Linked DNA regions of Homo sapiens: all the other regions are linked to region 2. The links are contacts of gene promoters, found by promoter capture Hi-C in blood cells and fetal thymus (Javierre and others, 2016). All regions are on one chromosome and are shown on one strand. Each heading gives the region's core, a stretch centred on a gene start or on the middle of the fragment in contact. The rest is flanking DNA. Distances are from core to core; before and after follow the strand shown. Region 1 overlaps MEI1 (meiotic double-stranded break formation protein 1). Region 2 holds the start of CENPM (centromere protein M). Region 3 overlaps MEI1 (meiotic double-stranded break formation protein 1).

The links. Contacts are between HindIII fragments. The CHiCAGO score rates a contact against its expected background, and 5 or more counts as called.
Region 1: a fragment that was not itself captured here is called in contact with the fragment with the promoter of CENPM in region 2 in 8 of 17 cell types (erythroblasts, M1 macrophages, M0 macrophages and 5 more); the score reaches 7.2 in erythroblasts.
Region 3: a contact is called between a fragment that was not itself captured here and the fragment with the promoter of CENPM in region 2, in 9 of 17 cell types (naive CD8 T cells, endothelial precursors, M0 macrophages and 6 more). The highest score is 7.6, in naive CD8 T cells.

Annotation. Positions count from the first base shown.
Region 1 is chr22:41,724,374-41,728,609 of GRCh38, reverse strand. The region is part of intron 7 of MEI1 (meiotic double-stranded break formation protein 1); the gene reads right to left. Among named protein-coding and RNA genes, the nearest start is that of MEI1, 27 kb to the right of the region's middle. The HindIII fragment of the contact is 794 bases long and covers 1,450-2,243 here.
Region 2 is chr22:41,944,665-41,948,650 of GRCh38, reverse strand. CENPM (centromere protein M) reads left to right here and starts at 1,499. Exons shown (of 6, transcript NM_024053.5): 1 at 1,499-1,631; 2 at 2,155-2,234; 3 at 2,646-2,738; 4 at 3,347-3,426. The coding sequence starts at 1,575. It also overlaps a transcript of SMIM45 not described here. RefSeq lists an enhancer at 1,486-1,695. The HindIII fragment of the contact is 15,549 bases long and covers 1-3,986 here.
Region 3 is chr22:41,705,848-41,709,968 of GRCh38, reverse strand. All of the region lies in intron 3 of MEI1 (meiotic double-stranded break formation protein 1), which reads right to left. It also overlaps the pseudogene HMGN2P10. Among named protein-coding and RNA genes, the nearest start is that of MEI1, 8.4 kb to the right of the region's middle. The HindIII fragment of the contact is 6,441 bases long and covers 1-4,121 here.

The DNA.
Region 1 (4,236 bases), core at 597-3,096, 220 kb after region 2:
TACAGCATGAGCCACCATGCTCAGCCCCAGCTCATTTTAAAATTTTTTATAGAGACAAGGTCTCAGTATATGGCCCATTCTGGGCTCAAGTGATCCTCCCACCTTGGCCTCCCTAAATGCTGGGATTACAGGCATGAGCCACTGTGCCCAGCTGGCCCTCATCTGGCTTTGATGTTTGCAACAATTCTGTGACATAACAAGGGAAGGTTCTACTATAAACCTCAATTTATTGAGTGCACAGAAAAGATTTAACACAGTAGGCCTGAGGCTATTATACTTAGAAAACCCTCTCTGCAAGGCTGGCTCTTGGCTGGGTTTGGGAACTTGGATTTCAGGAGGGTTCCTAACGGAACTGAGAGAGTGGCTCACTGTGACTAAACTATGTGTACAATGAACAGTTGACCCTTGAACAACACAGGCTTGAACTGTGTGGTTCTACTTATATGTGGCCTTTTTTCAACTGAACGCTGATGGAAAATGCAGTATTCACTAGATGTGAAACTGGCATATGAACAGGGCCAACTTACTGGAGTTTGCCAGGGCTGACTGTAGGACTTGAGTATATGTGGGTCTGGGTATATGCCGGCGGTCCTGGAACCAATCTCCCGTGTATACAAGGGACAACTGTAGTTTATGCTGAATACCTGTTTTCCTTCTGGGAGTCTGGAATTTTGGTACATGCTCAGCAGAGGATACCTACGTGAACGGCCAGTCCCCCATAAAAACCTGGGGTACTGACACTCCGATGAGCTTCCTCAGTAGGTAAGGTTTCACATGTCACAGTTCATTCCTGGGGAAATTAAGAAGTGCATCCCATGTGACTCCACTGAGACAGGACTCTGGAAGCTTGTGTTGGTTCCACCAGACTTCGCCCCATGCACCTTTCCTTTTGCTGATACTGCTTTCCTTACACTGCCGTAAATCGTAGCTATGAGTATGACTATACGTTGAGTCCTATGAGTCCTCCTAGCAAATCATCAAACCTAGGGGTAGTCTTTGGGAACCTTTAGCAAGGTTAGGTTACTTACTCTAGGCTACACAGCTGATAAGTGGCAAAGCTAAGGCACAAACTCAGGTCAGCCAAGTCCAAATCTAGGAGTCTACCCACAACTGTGATGCCTCCCCCATCAGAATTTTTAGATCAGGCATATTTGCTACTCCAAACATCTCAGTGAATTTCCATTGCACTCTGAATAATATCCAAACTCCTACTCGTCACCATAGCTATTAGGGATGCCTCTAACACTTTCAGAAATCAAGAAAAGCGTTAACTGCAACCACAGATTTTAAGTATCATAGAAGCTGATTTTGGGGGAGAAAAATGCCAAACAGAATATACATCACCAGAAGAATGGAGGGCATACCTGGTTTTACAGCTTTTAAGAAAAAGGACCAAGTAGACATGAGACTACTAATGTCTGGTAAAGATACATCTGAGGACTGCAAGCTTAACCCCATCTCAGCCATATTGGACTTACAAGTGGACACATAAACAGCCTTCCTACTTGTCAGACTTATCAGGAAAAGAAAAAAAAAAGCCAGATTTTCTGATAGTATATAAAGGAGTTTAGAAATTAGGGAGGCTGAGGCGGGTGGATCACGAGGTCAGGAGATCGAGACCATGCTGGCTAACACGGTGAAACTCCATCTCTACTAAAAATACAAAAAATTAGCTGGGTGTGGTGGCGGGCGCCTGTAGTCCCAGCTACTCGGGAGGCTGAGGCAGGGGAATGGCATGAATCCGGGAGGTGGAGCTTGCAGTGAGCCAAGATATCGCCACTGCACTCCAGCCTGGGCGACAGAGCGAGACTCCATCTCAAAAAAAAAAAAAGAAATTAATCTTTATCTTGTTCTCTTTTATAAAAGAAATGACATATTGTATCTTAAGATGCTATTGATGTAACGCAAGCCATTATTTTATGTACCACTAAGAAAGAAAAAGTGCTCCCAATTAAACTATGATGCACCATTGATGGTAAAATGTCTCCCAATTTCAGAGCTGTTAAAATGTGAAAAAATGTATCTCAGAATCAAAGAAATATGATATGTATCCATTAAAACAATGATTCTTGGTTTAAAATAAATATTCTTTTTTGAAGTTTAATTGGTTAAATTTCATTACACTTCAGTTTTGTGATTTGATAACACATTTTTAGTTTCCCTGTTGTTGTTTAAGTACATATGTTTGAAAATGGCAACAGTAACTGCTTTTAAGTTACTGCTTTTAAGTTAAGTTTTAAGCTTAAAACTACACTAAAACTTATGGAATACGTGTATGATTCCTAAGTCAGAAACCTGATCCTAGCTCATTACACTTGATGACCGACATTTAAACTCTGAAATGGACTAAACTATTTTCTTTAGAAGTCAGTTCTTTTCTTTTCTTGCTGTAGTCTCAGGACAAACTTTTCTTGCTATATTCTCCTGCCTCAGCCTCCCAAATAGCTGGGATTACAGGTGTGTGCCACCACGCCTGGCTAATTTTTGTATTTTTAGTAGAGATAGAGTTTCACCATGTTGACCAGGCTGGTCTCGAACTCCTGACCTCGTGATCCACCCGTCCCGGTCTCCCAAAGTGCTGGGATTACAGGCATGAGCCACTGCACCCGGCCTCCCTTCTCACTTCTAACCAGAGCTCCTCCTCCTCTTCCTTGCTGCAGAAAGAGCCCCAGAGTTTGGGCAATCAACCCCTGCTATCACATCAGGGTTTGCAGCTCTGCCAGCCCCCGTGCCGAGCACTGGGGAAAGATGCCAGACTCAGGTTTTGCCCTGAAAGAGCTCCCAGCCAGTCAACCACAATATGGTATGAGGTAAGCACGGTGACAGTGGGTCACATTCCGCCTAAAGGAGCCAGGGTGACAGGGGAGCCCTATAGGCTTGAAGGCTGACTCATATCAGCAGATAAAGAGAGGAGAAATGCCCTATAGGCAGAGGAAGAGCAACTGCACAGGCAGTGAGACAGGATGACCTAGCATATGCAGGACCAGGGAAAGACTGCATGTGGCTGGAGCACTGGGTTGTGGGGTGGAAGAGACAGGAAAGTGAGGCTGAAGGATATCCAGATAAAGAAGGTTCTCAGTACCAAGCTCAGAATCTGATCCCTAAAGCAACTGAGGTGACTTTGTTTCTATTGCTGTAAGTATTCTCCATTTTCAGGCAGCCCAAATGTGAAGGGGAAGTGCAGAGGTAAGAATTTACGGCTGGGCCTGGGGGCTCATGCCTGTAATCCCAGCATTTTGGGAGGCCGAGGCAGGCGGATCACAAGGTCAGCAGTTTGAGACCAGCCTGGCCAGCATGGTGAAGCCCCGTCTCTTCTAAAAATGCAAAAAATTAGCCGGGCATGGTGGCTTGGCGCCTGTAATCCCAACTACTCAGGAGGCTGAGGCAGGAGAATTGCTTGAGCCTGGGGGGCGGAGGTTGTAGTGAGCCAAGATCACGCCACTGCACACCAGCCTGGGCAACAGCGAGACTACATCTCAAAAAAAAAATAATAATAATTTACAACTGAGGCTAGGTGCAGTGGCTCACACCTGTAATCCCAGCACTTTGGAGGCCAAGGTGGGAGAATCACTTGAGCCCAGGAGTTGAGACCAGCCCAAGCAACATAGAAAGATCCCTGTCTCTACGAAAAGTTAAAAATTAGCCATGCCTCATGGTGAACACCTGTAGTCTCAGCTACTCAGGAAGCTGAGACAAGAGGATCGCTTGAGCCCAGGAGGTTGAGGCTGCAGTGAGCCGTGATTGTGCCACTACATTCCAGCCTGAGTGGAGAGAGCAAGACCTCGGCACTTAAAAAAAAAAAAAAAGAATTTACAAATGAAAGGAAATCTACTTTCTATCACCCAGGCTGGAGTGTAGTGGCATGATCATGGCTCAATGCAACCTCCGCCTCCTGGGTTCGAGCAATCCTCCCACCTCAGCCTCCTGAGTAGCTGGGATTACAGGTGCATACCACCACGCCCACGCCCAGCTAATTTTTTTTTTTTTTTTTTTGAGACAGAGTCTCGTTCTGTCACCAGGCTGGAGTGCAGTGGCGCGGTCTTGGCTCACTGCAACCTCCGCCTCCCAGATTCAAGGCATTCTCCTGCCTCAGCATCCCGAGTAGCTGGGACTACAGGTGTGTGCCACCACGCCCAGCTAATGTTTGTATTTTTAGTAGAGATGGGGTTTCACTGTGCTGGCCAGGATGGTCTCAATCTCTTGACCTCATGATCCGCCAGCCTTGGCCTCCCAAAA
Region 2 (3,986 bases), core at 250-2,749:
CACGGCGTTCAGCTTACTTTATTTTCTTGTCATAGTGCCTACTACTGCTTGACTTTCAGGAAGTCCTCTCCACACCCCATGCCATGAGGAATGAAAGCCGTATCTGTGCTGAGGGCAGTGGCTCTATGGGGCCATTTACGTCCTGATCTTTCTGAGCAAGACACAGTTAGTTTAGTCTGCAGTAAGAAGGATTTAGGCTAGACAGTGTCTCTGCTCTCCCAGTTATTACAACAATGAACACACTGTTATCATTGTCTATCCCACCCCCATCAAACTAAGTTAATCAATAATGTCTGATTCAACTGACTTCCTAGGGTAGGGCATTGGGTCTGGGCATAGGAAATGATGAATGAATGACTGCTGAGAATGAATGGATGAATGTAATCCATCCATTCACTCAACAAATATTTATTAACTACGATGTACCAGGGACTTTTAGAGTGCTGGACATACAAAGTGACAAAGTCTCTAACCTCTTGTTTCTTACATTTTAGATGTAGAGACAGTGAACAAGTTATTATATAACTGTTGGCAGAACCAGTTTGCTATGGGCCCTGAGCGTCCCTGCATGTTCTTGCTGGGTATGTCAAGAAAGCAAGACCCTGACAGCTCTGTACTCAGGCTGTGTTTGCAGCAAGGAACCTTGAAAGATGAGGTAAAGTCTCCCATTGGACAAAGAACAGCATGCTTACCACTCACTGTAAAAGCAGTCAATTGGCAGGGCCTGCTGGTGTGCAGCGGTAGTCCCAGCTACTCAGGAGGCTGAAGCAGGAGGGCTGCTTGAGGCCAGGAGTTTACGACCCACCTGGGCAACATGGCCAGATCCCCATGGTGGCACTTGCCTGTAGTTCCAGCTACTCAGGAGGCTAAGCCAGGAAGATGACTTGAGCCCAGGAGTTTGAAGCTGTAGTGAGCTATGATCGTGTCACTATAGTCCAGCCTGGGCAACAAAGTGACGCTCCAAAAAAAAAAAAAAAAAAAGGGCCAGGCACGGTGGCTCACGTCTGTAATCTCAGCACTCACTTTGGGAGGCCGAGGCGGGATCACTTGAGGCCAGGAGTTTGAGACCGGCCTGGGCAACTTGGAGAAACCCCGTCTCTACTAAAAATAAAAAAATAAGTCGGGCGTGGTGACGCGCGCCCGTAGTCCCAGCTCCTTGGGAGGCTGAGGCAGGAGAATCGCTTAAACTCGGGAGGCAGAAGTTGCAGTGAGCCGAGATTGCGCGCATTGCACTCCAGCCTGGGCCACAAAGCGAGACTCTGTCTCAAAAAAAAAAAAAAAAAGTACTGTGTATGAGCATGAATGAATGAAAGTGAACAAAGGAATCACTAAAAACCTGCTTACTGTGGAGCGTGGAACCAAAGGCCTGTCCACCACGTGTTCCACGGGTAGCGCTGGAACGCCCCTCAGAAAAGGAGATAAAGGTTCGGTTCCTTTAAGAGGCCCCGTCCCGTCCCGCGAAGCCCCGCCTATAAGGAGGCACGTGCCCCCAGGCCGCGCTCTAGGGGCTGGACTCAGGGCGGTTTGAAAGATCGGCGCGCACCGCAGGAGCAACGGTTGGTCCTGCGGCTGTGATGTCGGTGTTGAGGCCCCTGGACAAGCTGCCCGGCCTGAACACGGCCACCATCTTGGTAGGTGCAGGCGGCCCTGCTTCCCCCGCCGGTTTTTCCTCCTGGGCGGTGCTTCAGCCACTAGGTCAACTGAGCTCTCTGAGGCGCCAAGCCAGCGCGCGCTACCGTGGCGGGGGCGGGGAATAGGCGGAGAGCCATGCTCTGAACCAATTGGAGTAGCCGCTCTCTGAGGTTGAGGGACGCACCCACCAATAGGTGCTCGGCGGACCCTTTCCCAGCTTCTGATTGGCGAGTTCCCGCGCCTGGAATTGGTTTTCCCGCGTCTGGGGGTCTGGCCTCCTGGAGAGGCCGGCGGTGGGAGCGAGGGTCGGGTAGTAGAGAGTGCGGTGCCCACAGGCCTGCAGCGGGTCCAAACCTCAGGCCCCCAGCCCGTGCCGCTTCGCGGGGTCCACTTCTCGGGAAATGTCCTCCGAGCCGCCTGCTGGCGGTGTCCCGATCCCCCCGGGAGTGGGTCGAAGGGCCAGGCCCTCCCCAGGGGGTGCTGTGCCTAGGGCTCGACTGTCCGCTCTCTCTCCCTGCGCAGCTGGTGGGCACGGAGGATGCTCTTCTGCAGCAGCTGGCGGACTCGATGCTCAAAGAGGACTGCGCCTCCGAGCTGAAGGTGTAAGTAGCCGCGGCTGTGGCCTGGGCCCACGTGTCTCTCACTCCAGAGGGATTCGGTCCTAGCTGCTAAACTCCGAAGCCCAGCGCCCCCTCCTCTGAGGCTGGTCCTTCTCCCAGCATGCAGCGTAGCTGGCTAGTCCCATGCCGTCTTATATCCCAACCTCCCCTTGCCGAGGTGGTGACTAAACAGAGCCCGTTTCTGGCAGAGGGAATCAGACAGGAGTAATCTGAATAGGACCGGACCTGTCCTGCCTCTGTGCTGGCCCAAGGAGTCGTGGCCACAAGAGCCTCGGGTGGCTAGGATGAGGTGGGGAGCCCTTGACGGCCTCTTTCCACATGAAGGGCAGCATTTAAACGGTCGCTATGAGGGGGGTACGGATATCTTGAGTCCTGCAATTTCCTGTTTTTCAGCCACTTGGCAAAGTCCCTCCCTTTGCCCTCCAGTGTGAATCGGCCCCGAATTGACCTGATCGTGTTTGTGGTTAATCTTCACAGCAAATACAGGTGAGAGCCAGAGGAAGGGGCAGTCAGGGCTCAGGCAGGCCTGGCTCAGGACTGTGCTGAGACGGTGACCTAACTTGTGATGGGAAGTGGTGAGGATGGGAGAGGCTGGCTGAGGTCAATCTGTAAGGTGAGGAGAGAGGAGCCAGTGGTCAGTGCACAATGTTTAAAATACACAACGGCCGGGCACAATGGCTCACACCTGTAATCCCAGCACTTTGGGAGGCCAAGGTGGGCAGATTGCCCGAGACCAGCCTGGGCAACATGGTGAAACCCCGTCTCTACTAAAATACAAAAATTAGCCAGGCGTGGTGGCATGTACCTGTAGTCCCAGCTACTCGGGAGGCTGAGGCAGGAGAATCATTTGAACCCAGGAGGCAGAGGTTGCAGTGAGCCAAGATCGCGCTACTGCACTCCAGCCTGGGCAACAAAGTGAAACTCCATCTAAAAAAAAAAAAAAAAAAAAAATTAAAGGACAAATATTTCTCCAGAGAAAGTCACCCTCTTGTCATTCTCTGGCCTCTAGGATCAGAGAAGCAAGGACTTCTGCTTTCTCCGTTGTAAAGTTTTGTTCTCTGGTTTGTTTTCTCACCCTGGCCTGGCCACCCCAGTCTCCAGAACACAGAGGAGTCCCTGCGCCATGTGGATGCCAGCTTCTTCTTGGGGAAGGTGTGTTTCCTCGCCACAGGTGGTAAGTACGTTCCTCGCCTGTTACTGCCCACCCCCAGCCAAGGGAAAGCTGGGGCGGCCGTAGGCTTCTTGCTGAGGCACCCTGGGTGATGGAAAGAGCATGTATTTTACACACACTGGGGCCTATCGGAGGGTGGAGGGCAGGAAGAAGGAGAAGATCTGGAAAAATAACTAATGGGTACTAGGCTTAATACCTGGGTGACAATGATCTGTACAACAAACCCCATGACACAAGTTTTAACTACATAACAAATCTGCACATGTACCCCTGAACTTAAAATAAAAGTTAAATTTAAAAACCGAAAGAACACATATACACATACTTTGGAATCTGACCTGTTGTCAGCCTTTCTAAGAGTGAATATGAGCAGATAACTCTGCCATTACTTGGAGTTGCCTAGTGGTTGCCTGTGGCTTTCGGTAAAATCCAAACTCTAAAGACATAAAACACTTTGCAGTTTGGCCTCTGCCTTCTGAGCTAGTCTCATCTCCGGTGACTCTCCTTCTCTGGGTCAGCTTATCGTTCTCTGAAAAAGTCCTGCTGTTCCTGAGACTTTGTAA
Region 3 (4,121 bases), core at 1,201-3,700, 240 kb after region 2:
CATATAAATTTAGCCCACAACATATCCTATCCTGCAACTTTGGGCTCTGCTAAAGATCTTAGTTCCTAAGGAAAGAATGCTTCCATGAGAGGTCACACAATGGTTTCATTGAATTAGAAGTTGTGACTATCATCTGGCCATTTTGAGGCCTCATGTCATTCAACCAATAGGCAAATAAGGGATTATTCTACTACCTGGAATGACTGATCCCAATATCCAGGGGAAACTCAGTTGCCACTAACAATAATGGCAAGGAGGACTATGTCTGGAACCAGGTATTCTCTGGGGCTCTTCTTACTAGTCTCATATTCAATAGTAAAAGTTAATGAAAAACATCAGCAACCAAAAAAAAAGGAAGAGCCACTGAAGATTCAGACCTTTCAGAAGAAGAGGCGAGAACAACCCCTGGACCGACCAAAGCCCGTGTGCCGCTGCATCCCGCGCACAGCACCTACATCCCGCTGCCGTCGCTGCTGCCACCATGCCCAAGACAAAGGCTGAAGGTGATGCTAAAGGAGATAAAGCCAAGGTGAAGGACGAACCACAGAGAAGATCCACAAGGTTGTCTGCAAAATCTGCTCCTCCAAAGCCAGAGCCCAAGCCTAAAAAGGCCCCTGCAAAGAAGAGAAGGTACCCAAAGGGAAAAAGGGAAAAGTGGATGCTGGCAAGGAAGGGAATAACCCTGCAGAAAATGGAGATGCCAAGACAGACCAGGCACAGAAAGCTGAAGGTGCTGGAGATGCCAAGTGAAGTGTGTACATTTTTGGTAACTGTGTACTTCTGGTGACTGTACAGTTTGAAATACTATTTTTTATCAAGTTTTATAAAAATGCAGAATTTTTTTAAGCTATGTTGTTAGCACACAGAACACTTCACTGTTATATTTTGGGGAAGGGGCATATGTCACTAATAGAATGTCTTCACAGCTGGACTGATGTGGGGAAACATCTTTCCCTTCTAGTTGTGAGAGACTTCCTCTTGGCTCCCAGGAGGAGGGATTCCCTGACTTTGACACACGTGGCCACTTTGGCACAAAAGCCTTGTGGTATGGAAAAACAAATTCGTTTTTATGTCCTCTTCTCCCTCTCTACCTTTCAGCATAGACTTAACTCCCTTAAGACCCAGACATCTGTTGGGACCTGACCCCTAATCATTGGTTACCAGTGTGTCAGGCAATCTAGACTTTCCAGTGATGCCACTGAGATGGCATCTGTCGAAAGAACAGTGCCTCCATTTTTAGATTGTGGATCTTCAGATAAATTCTGCCATTTTCATTTCACTTCCTGAAAGTCAGGGTCGGCTTGTTTAAAGTTGTTAAACAACATGCTAAATGTGAAATGTCAACCCTCACTCTAAACTTTTCCTGTTCAGAGCATCAGATGAAGACTTCATTGGGTTTTATAGTGGCTTTCCGATTTTTGGTATCCACTGAAGACGGGAGTTTGAAAGTTGTTGTATACTGTTAACGACTGTCTGCCCATGTCCTGCCTGAAATACCATGACTGTTTATGGAAAGTATCTTTAATAAAGCTGGATACAGTTTGGCTTGGAAAAAAAAAAAAAAGATTCAGACCTTTCAGGAATGAAGGTGTGAGTCACCCTACCATGTAAAAACCCTGACCAGTTGAGACCCTCGTTGAAGGCAAAGGATACATAGAACAAACACCATTAAGAAGGAAATTATAAATATTAACTATATCGTTTTGACCAGTTATGAAAATGAAGATTGTAATATATTTCTGTAACTGTTTTCTTCTCTCTCCTTTTTTCCTTATTGTTTGTACAAGTTTTGGTGGAGGTTAGCTTTAAAATTTAGTCTTTCGGTAACAGAATATTCATATAGGACTGTGATTGAATTTAAAAATAAATTATTAACCTCCTTATGTTGGGGACAAATTGACAATGGCTTAGTCTGTATGAAGTATATGAATGAAGGATAGTTACATCTTGTTAGGTAAACAAAAAGTTGTTTTTGTTCTATGGGAGTTCAAATATGTGGAGAAGGGTGTTTGGACACCAAGTAGCCAAAGGAATGGATCAAACCAGTTATTACACTATTGTCTTTGAGCTCCAGAACCCACCCTGTAATCTGCCTTGGAAGACTAAGACTGGACTCTGCAAATCACATTTTTGCTTTGCTAGCTGAACCTCATTAAGCTCTGCCAATAATGAGCACTAGAAAGAGATGGCAAGGCTATAGGAAGAAGGGATTTGCTCCTTCCTTTTTGTTTCCTATGGGTTTCCTGTCTGCTTCCCATTCATGTAAGTCTTCCCATTCATATAAGTCTTCCCATTCATGTAAGTATCCCCTTAACACTTTTTTTTTAAGAGACAGTCTTGCTATGTTGCCCATGTTGGACTTGAACTCCTGAGCTCAAGTGATCCTCTCACCTCAATCTCCTGAGTAGCTAGGACCACAGACCCACACAATTAAGATGCCTGGCACCTTAGCACTTCTTTATCCTGGCAGTGGCAGTGCCATTCTATGACAGCAGCCGAATCCAGCCTGCAGTTTTTCCAGAACCACCTTCATTGCATCTCTCCTCCTCCAGAGACAACGGTATTATCTAGTCAGTGCCACTCAGAGGTCTGAGTTTCATAACTAGGCCCTTCCTCCAAACTTCTAAGTTTTAACAATTCCAGCCTCTTTCCTTTGTTCCCCCAGCCCCAGTGAGGGAGTTGTTTTCTATAATTGCTATCTCCATGAAAATTTGGTTGTTCTCTTTTTCTTCAGTTACCTACTTAACCAACATTATTTTTTTAATTGAGACAGGGTCTCACTGTATCACCCAAGTTGAAGTGCAGTGGCGCGATCTCAGCTCACTGCAACCTCCACCTCCCGGGTTCAAGTGATTCTCCTGCCTCTGCCTCCCAAGTAGCTGGGATTACAGGTGCCCGCCACCGCGCCCGGCTAATTTTTTTTTTTTTTTTTTTTTTTTTGGTAGAGATGGGGTTTCACCATGTTGGCCAGGCTGGTCTCGAACTCATGACTTCAAGTGATCCACAGGCCTAAGCCTCCCAAAGTGCTGGGATTACAGGCGTGAGCCACTGCGCCCGGCCTACTTAACCATTCTTTAAAGTTTTTTTCTATTCAAATAATTGGTGTGGTTTCTATTTCCTGACTGGATCCTAACTAGTACAATTCTCACTCTCTCTGCAAGAATCGTCACATACCAGGGCTCTTACCTTCTTTCTCTACAAACCCTTTATAGGTAAACCCATGCGCTTCGACAATTTTTGTTTTTTTTTTTTAAGAGAAAGGGGTCTCACTTTGTCATCCACGCTAGAGTGCAGTGGGATGATCATAGCTCACTGTCACCTCAAACTCCTGGACTCAAGGGATCCTCCCACCTCAGCCTCCCGAGTAGCTAGGACTACAGGCATGTTGTACCATGCTCAGTCCACTTCAACAGTTTTAACCACCATCTGTGTGCAGACAACTTTCAATGAACCAATACGAGATGTACTAAAAAAGAGTTTTGTATGTGCCTTTGTAACAGCACTCATCAAATCTAGTTATTTGCCTGTCAGTCAATCTCTTCTCCAGATTGTAAGCTCCTAGAGGACAGGGACCATGTCTTATCTATCTATGTATCCGTAGTGCCTGATCCAGTATCTAGCACAGAGTAAATACCCAAGGAAAAAATGTAAGGCCAGGAATGGTGACTCACGCCTATAATCCCAGCACTTTGGGAAGCCAAGCAGGAGGATTGCTTGAGAATAGCCGTTTGAGACCAGCCTAGTCAATATGGTAAGTCCCTGTCTCAACGAAAAGAAATTTTTTTAGCCAGTCATGGTAGTGCACACCTGTAGTCCCAGATACTCGGGAGGCTGAGGCGGGAAGATTGCTTGAACCCAGGAGTTCAAGGCTGCAGTGAGCTATGATTGTACCACTGCACTCCAGCCTGGGTGACAGAATGAGCCCATGTCTCAACAAAAAGAAGAGAGAGAGAAAAAGAAAGACTGGGTGCAGTGGCTCATGCCTGTAATCCCAGCACTTTGGGAGGCTGAGGCAGGCAGATCGCCTGAGGTCAGGAGCTCGAGACCAGCTTAGCCAGCATGATGAAACCCTGTCTCTACTCAAAATACAAAAATTAGCTGGGTGTGGTGGCAGATGCCTG